Linked DNA regions of Homo sapiens: region 1 is linked to region 2. Evidence: promoter capture Hi-C in 16 types of primary human blood cells and fetal thymus (Javierre and others, 2016). All regions are on one chromosome and are shown on one strand. The core of a region is centred on a gene start or on the middle of the fragment in contact, and the rest is flanking DNA. Distances in the headings are between cores, read along the strand shown. Region 1 overlaps LOC107985905 (a long non-coding RNA gene). Region 2 holds the start of MRPL19 (mitochondrial ribosomal protein L19).

Region 1 (5,406 bases), core at 1,955-4,454, 8.7 Mb before region 2:
AGAAAAAAAAAAAAAAAAGTACACATTTCTTCTGAGCTCTGGTTGCCAGGTGTCTGTATCAAACATTGAAAACCACTTTTGAGGCCAGGCATGGTGGCTCACGCTTGTAATCCCAGCACTTTGGGAGGCTGAGGCAGGTGGATCATGAGGTCAGGAGTTTGAGACCAGCCTGGCCAAGATGGTGAAACCCCATCTCTACTAGAAATGCAAAAAATTGGCCGGGCATGGTGGCACATGCCTATAGTCCCGGCTACTCCAGAGGCTGAGGCAGAGAATTGCTTAAAACCTGGAGGGGCAGAGGTTGCAGTGAGCTGAGATCCCACCACTGCACTCCAGCCTGGGTGACACAGCAAGACTCCGTCTCAAAAGAAAACCACTTTTGAGTATTATATTGTGAAAACATCAGACTTTGTATGTAGAATAAGTTTATATCATTTTGGCTGGTAAATATTTGTCAAGCATGTGAGGTATTTTTGTTGAAACCCTCTGGCTGGCTGATCTCTCCTTGCTACTCCTTCAGACACACCAGGGTTTAATGGCTGAAAACCTAAACACTGTGTCAAAGGCAGGTATGAAAGAAATGAGGAATTTAACCAGTCATAGCACCAAAGAGAAAAGACAGCTGAGGAGGGCTTTAGAAATCTTCCATCCAGCCTTTGTTGGACAGATGTGGAAACTGAGGCCAGAAGGGAAGTGGCAGAGTAACCTAGCTTGTGGAGGGCAGGGTCAGGCTGGGAACTAGGATGGTTGATGGCTGGTCCAGCCTAGCCTCTTTCAGGGAGCGCACGGTGAAGGGCTGCCTCTCAAGAGTTTATGTCTGTTAGGAGCAGAGAACACAAAAGTCCTGTGTTCCCTTCACCAGTCCTTTCTCCAGGCTAGAAAAATGATGATGTCAGAAGGATCTCATAAGCCCTGTGTGGAGATTTGGCATTCAGCTCCTCACTCTGCCCTAGAGAGGTTTTGTTATGCCAGACAGGGGCTCTGAACATCTCAGTCTGTCAGTGAGTGAGAAGCCTATTGGACTTGCTGGCTTCATCAGGCAAGGTGTGGAGAGATGTCAAGAGACCCCCCCCGGAGGATCCAAATCAATACTAGGCATGAAAACAAAGCTGGCTTTGACGCCCCCGAGTTAACAAAGGAAAGTTTCTTTGCTGCTTAGACAAGTTAGAACCACACAAAAATGGTTAAAAGTATTTTAGGATCTTTTCCCCCACCTCAGATAGTTTTGGCTTTGAGAAGAGATTTTTCCCATGGTGCAACTGGGCATACTTGGATCTATATGAGGAGGAAAAGTAAAATAAGGTAAATGAAGAGTTTGCCTTCTGTTGGTTGATAATCTACAAAGCTTCCACTCACCTTCTGTCCCAGCACCCAGGAGTCATATTCCTTTCTGACTGCCCACTGCTAGCAAATCAAGCCACTCTCCTGCACATCAGTCTTGATTCTGCAACTTTGCTTCCTTCACCCAAACTTATATGCACAATGTTCACACACTCCCTATTCCTTATTCCTTCAAGGCCTTGCTTGAAGTGCTTGAAGCTGGTTAACTAGCTAGATGCTGTATAAGTTTATAGTTTTGGATATAAATACTTTGCCCTCGGAGAGAGACTAATGCTCTGTGATTTTGGACAAGCCATTTAGTATCTTGGAGCTTCCATTTTTCTTATCAGTGAATAAGTGATGTTTGCTCTACCAATGCAAGAGAATTGTTGCAAGATTTAAAACCCATGTGAATTAATGAATGTAAAAAAGACCTTGGTCAAACTGTTGCATGCTTTATAATAAGTGAGATAGCATGATTAAATGCCTTAAAGAAGTCAATTTTCAAGGCTTATGTCTGGTTAAGGGGTAGAAAATTGTTGGTAGATAACCCCCCCTACTCCCAGATTCACCAGCAGAACTTACATTCCTCTGCCTGTGTCTGTTTTGCCCTACTCCTTTGTTTAACCCCTTCCTTGTCTTAGCTTTCTTCTAGAGAGGGGAAGGGGTGCCCCTGGTGACTTAACTTCTTATGCATATTACATTGAGGCAAATCTAAAATGAGCCTCTGCAGAAGGAGAACAAATGCCATCCCCTGGAGAAGGATCGGAATGCTTTGCTTTTTATTTCTTTCAGGGGTCTGAGTGTGTGCCGGATTGCATGGTCTAGGGAGGAGATGCTGAGTGCAACTTTTCCTGTTTCTCAGAATTGGTGCCTGGGGGCCCAAAAATGAGGATGAAAAGGCCCCAAATAACCCATGTTCTAAAGAGAGAAGCCAAAAAATGCACCAATTTCCCAGCTCAGCCTTCCTGGTCTGTGGCTGCCATCCCAGGTGTCATCCTCACTCTCCACCCTACCTTCTGGTTCATTGTTCATTGCTCTAAGGGATGAGAACACAAGGAGGGGAGAGAGTTATCACTACCGTGAACCTCAGGTGTGATGTGCTCCTGGAAAGAGGTGTTTCCTACTATCCCTGAAAAAAAAAAATACCGTTTGTATTTGTACCCACCCCCCACCATCGAGCTGTCAACCCCCCTCATTAAGACACTTGTACCAGGGAAAAGGAGTAATGGGAATAAAAGACAAGAGCAACTTGAGTCTTCATTTCATTGCTCACATCGCTCTGTCCTGCTGCTTTCTTCACCGAAGTACTGGGTTTCTATTCCAAACCAGCTACAATGAACAGTCTTCATTCGGAGTTGGGACTATGGTCTCAACATGGGACTACTGGGGACCCTCTAATAGCCTTGTCCTAGACACACATGACTTTGGCCACCTCAGTAGCAAGAGGGATCTGAAGGGATATGCTCGAGATCCCTGGAATCCTCAGAAATGTCTACAGGCAGGTGTCCTGGGGTCCTGCATAGAAGGGCACTGGCCAGGCCTTGAGTGAGCTCAGCGGGGCCTCTAGACTCACCTGAGATCACAGCCAGGTCGCTCTCCTGCTCTCCTGGTGCTGATTCCAGCTCCTTTCTGTTATTCTGTAGCCCTCAGGATTTGGGTGTCCTTCGGACTGTCCTGTTGGGAACCCTTCCTCACAGTCCTCACATCGACTGAGCAGACTGAGCGGGCACCACGTCTGGCTCCTTTGCTTATGCTCAGCTACTGGATTGCAGTCCCAGAAACGCCACCTTGACAAGGTTAGCCTGCAATGCGTGAGGCGAAGGAAGGCCACAAGGTGGCAGCAGAGGATTACCCACTTGCTAGTGGAGTCGGGAGGCTCTATGGGGGTGGGGAAATGGAGTTTCCTTACCACAGAGCGGGTTGGAAAGCAAGTGAACCAACATTTTAGAGGACTAAGAGATCAATAGGAACAGGTGCAGAAAGATTCCAGGAGGGTGTTGAGGTAGGGCTTGAATAGAAAGACTAATAATCATGTATTAAATGTTTATTATGAAGCTGGCAATGCTTCATAAGTGTAAGCACTTACACATTACATGATCCATTTCTTAGAACAACCCTGCAATTATTCCTATTCTACTTGTGAGAAAATAGAGGCTCAGATTAATTGAGTTACTGGCCCAAGTTCACATAGCTATTAATTGATGGAATTAGGAATAAAAACCAGGTCTGACAGACTGTAAAGCCCGGGTTTTGAACTTCTATGTTAAACAGTGCAAACATCAGGATAGACTAGTGGTTCTCAAAGCGTGGTCCTGGAACCCCCTGGGATTCGCATCACCTGGTGACTTGTTATAGTGCACATTCTTGGCCAGGCGCAGTGACTCACACTTGTGATTCCAGCATTTTGGGAGGCCGAGGTGGGCAAATGACTTGAGGTCAGGAGTTTGAGACAGGCCTGGCCAATATGGTGAAACCCCGTCTCTACTAAAAACACAAAAATTAGCTGGGCATGGTGGCACATGCCTGTAGTATCAGCTACATGGGAGGCTGAAGCAGGAGAATTGCTTGAACCCAGAAGGCAGAGGTTGTCGTGAGCTGAGATTCTGCCACTGCACTCCAGCCTGGGCAATAGAGTGAGACTCCATCTTTTAAAAAAATATATAATAATAATAAAAAAATGCAAATTCTCAAACCTACTGAATCAGAAACCCTGGGGTGGGGCTCAGCAATCTGTGTGAGTGTGTGTGTGTGCGTGTGTGTGTGTTTTAATTTTAAATATATATTTTAGTACAGGCAGGGTCTTGCTATGTTGCCCAGGCTGGTTCCCAACTCCTGGCTTGAAGTGATCCACCTCGGCCTTCGAAAGTGCTGGAATTACAGATGTGAACCACCCTTCCTGGCCCCAATCTGTGCTTTAAAAGCCCTCTGCCAGGATTCTGATGCTGCTCCAGTTTGAGAAGCACTGGGATAGATAATATTCCAGCCTGTCAAGTGCTGAGCTGTGGATTTGCCTATGAGCATTGCCTGTCATGGTGCAGTCACCTCTGATGGAGCTGGAACTGCCCCACCCTTGACATTGACATTAGGCCAGCTGCTCCCAAAGGTAAGGAAGTGGTTCACTCCAATTCTACCCCTTACCTGCTGACATTTTTCTCCCTCTTTAGCTGTAGGTGGGGGAGAACAGTCTTTGTGGAACTCAGAACTGGAAATTTTCTCTTCATTAACATGACAAACAGGCTACCTCTATCAAGGACAGCCCGGTGAGACTGGCCTGGAATTTAGAATCTCCTTATAAATAAAGTCTCAGCTTTAAGCATTAATGAAAGACGTGAGATCTTTATGGTGCCATTCATTTCTGATCTTGCCAATTTGGTAGCTAAAGAGTGACTGCTATCTTTTTCCAAGCCACTAATTATGCAACTCTGTCCTGATGTGTGCTAGTTCAGGTTCTTAGCAAAAATTGTTATTCCTGTAAAAATATAACATTTAAGACTGGAAGGAAAGACTCCATATAATTAATCTTTGTATTTTAGCTAAGAATTTTGGAGTGATTTTAAGTTGCTTCTTTGTGCTTTAAGAAACTTTTGTTTTTAACTTTGAAGTGTGTACACATTTTTCAATAAGAGAAGAAAATAATGCTGTTTTATAAGCAAGTCTTTTATTCTGTGAGATGAACCCATCAGAATGAAAGTTATGTGCCTGAAATTCCTGATGATTTGACAAGGGAAGACTGAAGCTTTTGTATAGCCATTTAAAGAAAAAGAAAACTCATTAATTTTCAGCTTATTCATTTGATATTTGTGCTTATATCCATAGGAGATAGGTGGTATTTTTTTGTTTGTTTTTTTTACTGAGGTTACAAAAGGATATTAAGAACAAGGCAATGTTTAGGAGAGCAGATTGTTTAAACGGAGTTTGAACTACCTTTGACATTCTCATGTGTATGCTAACACTGATGTGCTTATTACAAATTTTTTCTTATATATTCATTCAATTCATTCATCGGATTATAGATGGTGTCTCTCTACATTAACACCTATCTGTAGCTTTAAAATCAGACTGTGGGATATATTAGTATACCCA
Region 2 (5,244 bases), core at 1,355-3,854:
AAGTTTACAGATTTGTGTTGGGCCACATTTAAAGCTGTCCTGGGCTGTGGGTTGGACAAGCTTGGTCTAATACAGAGTTCATACTCAAATGTATGTCATTATCCTGGGAAGGTATTTTACATCTATTCGTTGCCCAATTCAAAATACAATCAAGCTTCACACATATTTGGTCATTAGTCTCTCAGACTAGGACTTTTTTCCAACTTTGTATTTTTATAACATTAACTTTTTTGAACAGTCAAGGCCTACTATCTCATCTCTGGATTCTGGATTGTTTCCACATGCCTAGACTAAGGTTAAATAATTTTAGTAAGAATATTACAGGGAGATGATGTGAACAACTTATTCTGTCACATCAGGAGACACATAATATCAACTGGTACCAATACTGGTAAAGTTAGGTTTGACTGTTTGGCAAAGTTTCAGAAGGCCCCCCTTACATTTCTTTTTACTTTTCATATGCATGTATGTCTGGGCAACATATATTGTTTCGTATAATTTTGTTTTTGTTTTTTTCTGAGACAGAGTCTTGCTCTATCGCCCAGGCTGGAGTGCAGTGGCACGATCTCGGCTCACTGCAACCTCGGCATCCTGTGTTCAAGCAATTCTTCTGCCTCAGCCTCTCGAGTAACTGGGATTATAGGCACATGCCACCACACCTGGCTAATTTTTTTTTTTTTTTGTACTTTTAGTAGAAATGGGGGTTTCGCCATGTTGGCCAGGCTGGTCTCGAACTCCTGACTTCGTGATCTGCCCTCCTCGGCCTCCCAAAGTGCTGGGATAACAGTCGTGAGCCACCGCACCCGGCCTATAGTTTTAAAACTTCATAAAAATAGCATCCTACTACATTAATGATTCTAAAGGTTTTTTTTACACACAGATTTGTGAAAATCTTCCATGTTTAAAAGTGAGCTCTAATTCACTCATTTTTCACTGCTATACAATATTCTGTCATATGAATGTATTTGCCTGTTCACCTACTGATGGATATCTAGGCTGCCTCTAAATTTTGTTACAAAAAATACTGTTACATTCATTCTCGTGCTTGTCTCCTTGTACATACACGTTAGGAGTTTAAGTTGTGTGCTTTCTGAGTGAGAAGGTATACACAACTTAAACTTAGTAAATTCTGTCAAATTGTTCTCTAGAGCATATAATTTACATTCCTATTTAAGTGAATTCTATTAAATGCCACTGTTTAAAAGAGATATTCCATTTCTACCCTCAAAAGCAAAGTTTTATGAAGAAATATTTTCTGAATCTCTTAGTTCTCTAACTCCAAGTTTACTTCTATTTAAATCCGTGGAATATTTTAAATGTTAAAAAAAGAAAAGAAAAAAAAAAGCCAGGCGTGGTACCAGTAGTTCCAGCTACTCTGGAGCCTGAGGCGGGAGGATCACTTGAGCCCAGAAATTTGAGGCTGCAGTGAGCTAAAATCACCACTGCACTCCAGCCTGGGAGACTGAGAGAGACTCTGTCTAAAAAAAATTTAAAAAATAAAAAAATTAAAAATCCCAGAAGTAATCCAATCAATAATCTACAGCCCTTTCAAAAAGCCTATAATCATATCAGGTTTTTCCTCTGAAAACTGGCTTTTTAAAAAGGTTGCTACATAGCTCTCTTTTCAGACCTTAAGTCCTTTAAATTTACATGTACCTCCAAGATTACCACCATTCATATAAGTTTTTATTCACACTATTTTGATGAGTAAGTTTCAGACACAATTTAGTGGCCAGTTTTACTGTGCTTTGTCTGCCAAAACTTCCAACCTAAACCATAGCAAATTTTTTAAGTTGGCCAATCGATTCCTATCCAGGGTTAAGGGTCTTTTGAGAGAAAAGAAGAGCTCTTGGACGTAAACAGGTATAAACAGGATATACCTCAGAGAAAAACTCTGGTACAGGACAAATACCACAGAGAAAAGAGTTTAAAATATGGGGAACCCCTACTTGAAGTTCTGACTCAATAAAACTGCAAAGAAGTTCAATGCTGGCTTGGGGAGAAGTGAGAAAGAAAGAACAGTGTGGTGCGCTGGCTCTTGAATCCTACACACCTGCTCGTGCAGGGGGAGGTGCAGCCCCCACCTTAGAGCCGGGACCTCGAACGCGAACGCGCTCACGCGCGCACCGACCCCAGTTGCCGGCCTAGCGCCAGGGCAGTGCCTCACCTGCGTTCCGGTTCCACGGGGCGGTGCTTGTCCACGATGACCGGTTTCGGCGGCGGTTGGAACGCACCGGGCTCGGAAGGCCCAGTGCTCTGCTGCCGGACAGGCCCCGCGTGGACCCCTGCGGGAGCGGACGACGGAGGTCAGAACTCTCGTGCCAACCCTGAGATCCCGCAGAGCCCCGCAATCTCCCCCAACCCGGCGTCCCACGGGGGACCAACGCTGGGGTTGCCTCTGATCTCCAGGTTCGCCTCCCCCATCCTGACCCTGGGCCCCTAACGCGCCCCAGCTCGCAAGTCCGGCTCCACTTACTGCAGGCGATAGAGGCCGGCGGGGGGAGCAGAGTCCTGGCGGCTTGGAAACTCCGGCCTAGGCCCATTGCAGCCCAGTGCCCCGCTGCAATGCAGGCCGCCATGCCAGCTAGCTCACGTCAAGACTACAGCTCCCAGTAATCAGTGCGACGAGGTTGTTGCTGTCTGCCACCATATGGCGGCTGCTATGGGACAAAATGGATAAGTCTCTCCTCGCTCCTTTCCTGATGTCTTAGGAAAAGTGCACGTTTCTCTAGTTCCTCGTAATGCGCCAAGTTACACCCCTCCACAGGGGTGTTCTCCCAGCCTAGAAAGCTTTTTCCTCCCCCTATGAATCCACTCTATCTTCTCAGACAAGCTTTCGCTATGCGAAAATCCCATTGTAGGCCGTCTTTCCCACTGGGTGCCTTCGATTGGCAGCTCTGATCTCATTTGCAATTCTTTCTTGTGTAATTATTAGATTAGTATTTAAATCTGCCATTATACTATAATGAGGCAAGGGAAGGGATAAAGTCTTCTTTTTGCTCACCATGTTATCCCAGCACCTAGCACCTACCTGGGCCCTCACTAACATCTTTTGTTTTGTTGAGACAAGGTCTTCCTCTGTTACCCAGGCTGGAGTGCAGTGGCGCGATCATGGCTCTGCAGCCTCCAACTCCTGATGTCAGGAGATCCTCTCACCTCAGCCTCCCGAGTAGCCAAGACTACAGTCTCGCACCATCACGCCCAGCTAATTTTTCTAATTCTTTGCTGAATGCACAGAAAAGAGAATAGAATAGTTCCTGACAGAACTGCTGGCCCATAGTCCTTGAGACTACACAAAGCATTAACCCTTTGAGGAACCCAAATGAATTTGGGCTGGGCAACTGTGGGTATGGATAGGTGGGAGAAGTAAAGCTGGAAAAGGTAAATTGTAAGTCTTGTTAAGAAATTTGGAAAATGACTGGGCGTGGCCAGGCATGCCTGTAATCCCAGCACTGTGGGAGGCCGAGACAGGAGGGTCCCTTGAGCTCATGAGTTGGAAACCAGCCTGGGCAATATAGTGAGACCGTATCTCTAAGAAACAAACACACAGCCGGGCGCAGTGGCTCACGCCTTTAACCCCAGCATTTTGGGAGGCCGAGGCGGGCAGATCGCCTGAGGTCAGGAGTTTGAGACTAGCCTGGCCAACATAGTGAAACCCCGTTTCTACCAAAAATAAAAAAAATGATCCAGGTGTGGTGGCAGGCTCCTGTAATCCCAGCTACTTGGGAGGCTAAGGCAGGAGAATCGCTTGAACCTGGGAGACAGAGGTTGCAGTGAGCCGAGATCGCGCCATTGCAACAAGAGCGAAACTCCGTCTCAAAAAAACAGAAAAAGAAACACACACAAAAAAAGAAATTTGGAATTTGTTATTTCAGCAGTGGTTATATAAGGATTGAACACTTAGAGTAATGTGATAATTTAACTACATAATAGTCATTCCAGTTGCATTAATGTCCCAAAGCTACCTCAAATTCAGCCTATCCATACTGAGTTCATCTTTTTCAGCTCCAGACTTCCTTCCCAGTATTGGCTATCTCAAGGAATGGCTTCAGCATCCACTCTCTTGCCTAAGCCAAAAATCTCAGTGCCATTCTTGATTCCTCCCTGTCTCCTCCTGGATGAAGTTCCAAAAACTATGCCTGACACCGTCAAATATCTCAGGAATCCATATACTTTCTCATCCTCCCATCCATATTTCCAATCTAGGTCAACATATTTTCTCTCTTCAGGATCCCTGGAGATCCCTGCAACAGCCTTCTCATTAGTCTTCTTGCCTCTGGTTACCTCCAGTCCTTCACGCAGCAACCAAAAAAAGATGGCTCAGAAATGCATACCCTGTTCTTTCCTTTCCCCAGTTTAAAGCCTTACTGTTTACTTTTGACAGAAGTCAAATGCTCATAAAAGCAACCAACCTCTGCAGCTTGGCCTCTATACTCTGACTTGCCATCCTGAAGAACATGAGCTGTTACATCAGCCTGAGGAACAGGGCCATGTTTTGAGCACAGAATTCAAGATGCTGTGAAGAAAGACAGGGCCTTCTATTTTAACTCTAGCTTCTTTGATTAGAACAAGAATTTATTCTATAAATGACAAGGAATCTCACAACCAAAATTTCAGATGAGCAATATTTTGGCTCTTCTACCTACCCGAAAAAGTAGACTTCAAGCCCTTAAGAGTAAAAGGGAGGAGAGGCAAAGATAATCATGACTGGCAGTGGTGAAGATTTTTCTGTATTAACCATGCCCAGAACACGTGGCCTTCACTCTTGCTGGGATTGGTCCTAAAGGTAGGGGCAGAGAAATAAAAGACAGACCTTCACAGGAGGACAGCAGGATTTACTAGACATTGCCAAGCCACTCCTGCTGCCCTCTCCTCTTCCACAGATGAAGGAATAGTTGTGTAGAGTTTTACAAAATTGGAAGAATGAACCTAAAGAATCTTATCTAATTTTCTCCCGTATTCTTGCTCATCCAACATATATCAGGCCGTTTTGACCTTATCTTAATTTGGAGAACAAGCTGGAGTTTAAATTATTCCAACTTAAGTTGTTATTAAACAACTTCATAGAGCAAAATCAAAGAGCACAGAGCTGGCTCAACCATTTTATGAGCTGATCACAGGAATAGAACTTTAATTATTTACTTCTGTGTTTTACACCCTTGGAAAGGAGATCATGAACATCATTACATAATGTTCAGCCAAGGGAAGAAAGTATTCCAGGCAAACTGGCTGCTTCAGGTTATT

Evidence for each region. Contacts are between HindIII fragments. The CHiCAGO score rates a contact against its expected background, and 5 or more counts as called.
Region 1: a contact is called between a fragment that was not itself captured here and the fragment with the promoter of MRPL19 in region 2, in 1 of 17 cell types (total CD4 T cells). The highest score is 8.8, in total CD4 T cells.

What each region holds. Positions count from the first base shown.
Region 1 is chr2:84,312,750-84,318,155 of GRCh38, reverse strand. All of the region lies in intron 1 of LOC107985905 (a long non-coding RNA gene), which reads left to right. Among named protein-coding and RNA genes, the nearest start is that of SUCLG1, 140 kb to the left of the region's middle. The HindIII fragment of the contact is 3,714 bases long and covers 1,348-5,061 here.
Region 2 is chr2:75,644,143-75,649,386 of GRCh38, reverse strand. MRPL19 (mitochondrial ribosomal protein L19) reads right to left here and starts at 2,604. Exons shown (of 6, transcript NM_014763.4): 1 at 2,477-2,604; 2 at 2,168-2,285. The coding sequence starts at 2,579. RefSeq lists enhancers at 2,375-2,674, 2,510-2,804. The HindIII fragment of the contact is 2,636 bases long and covers 157-2,792 here.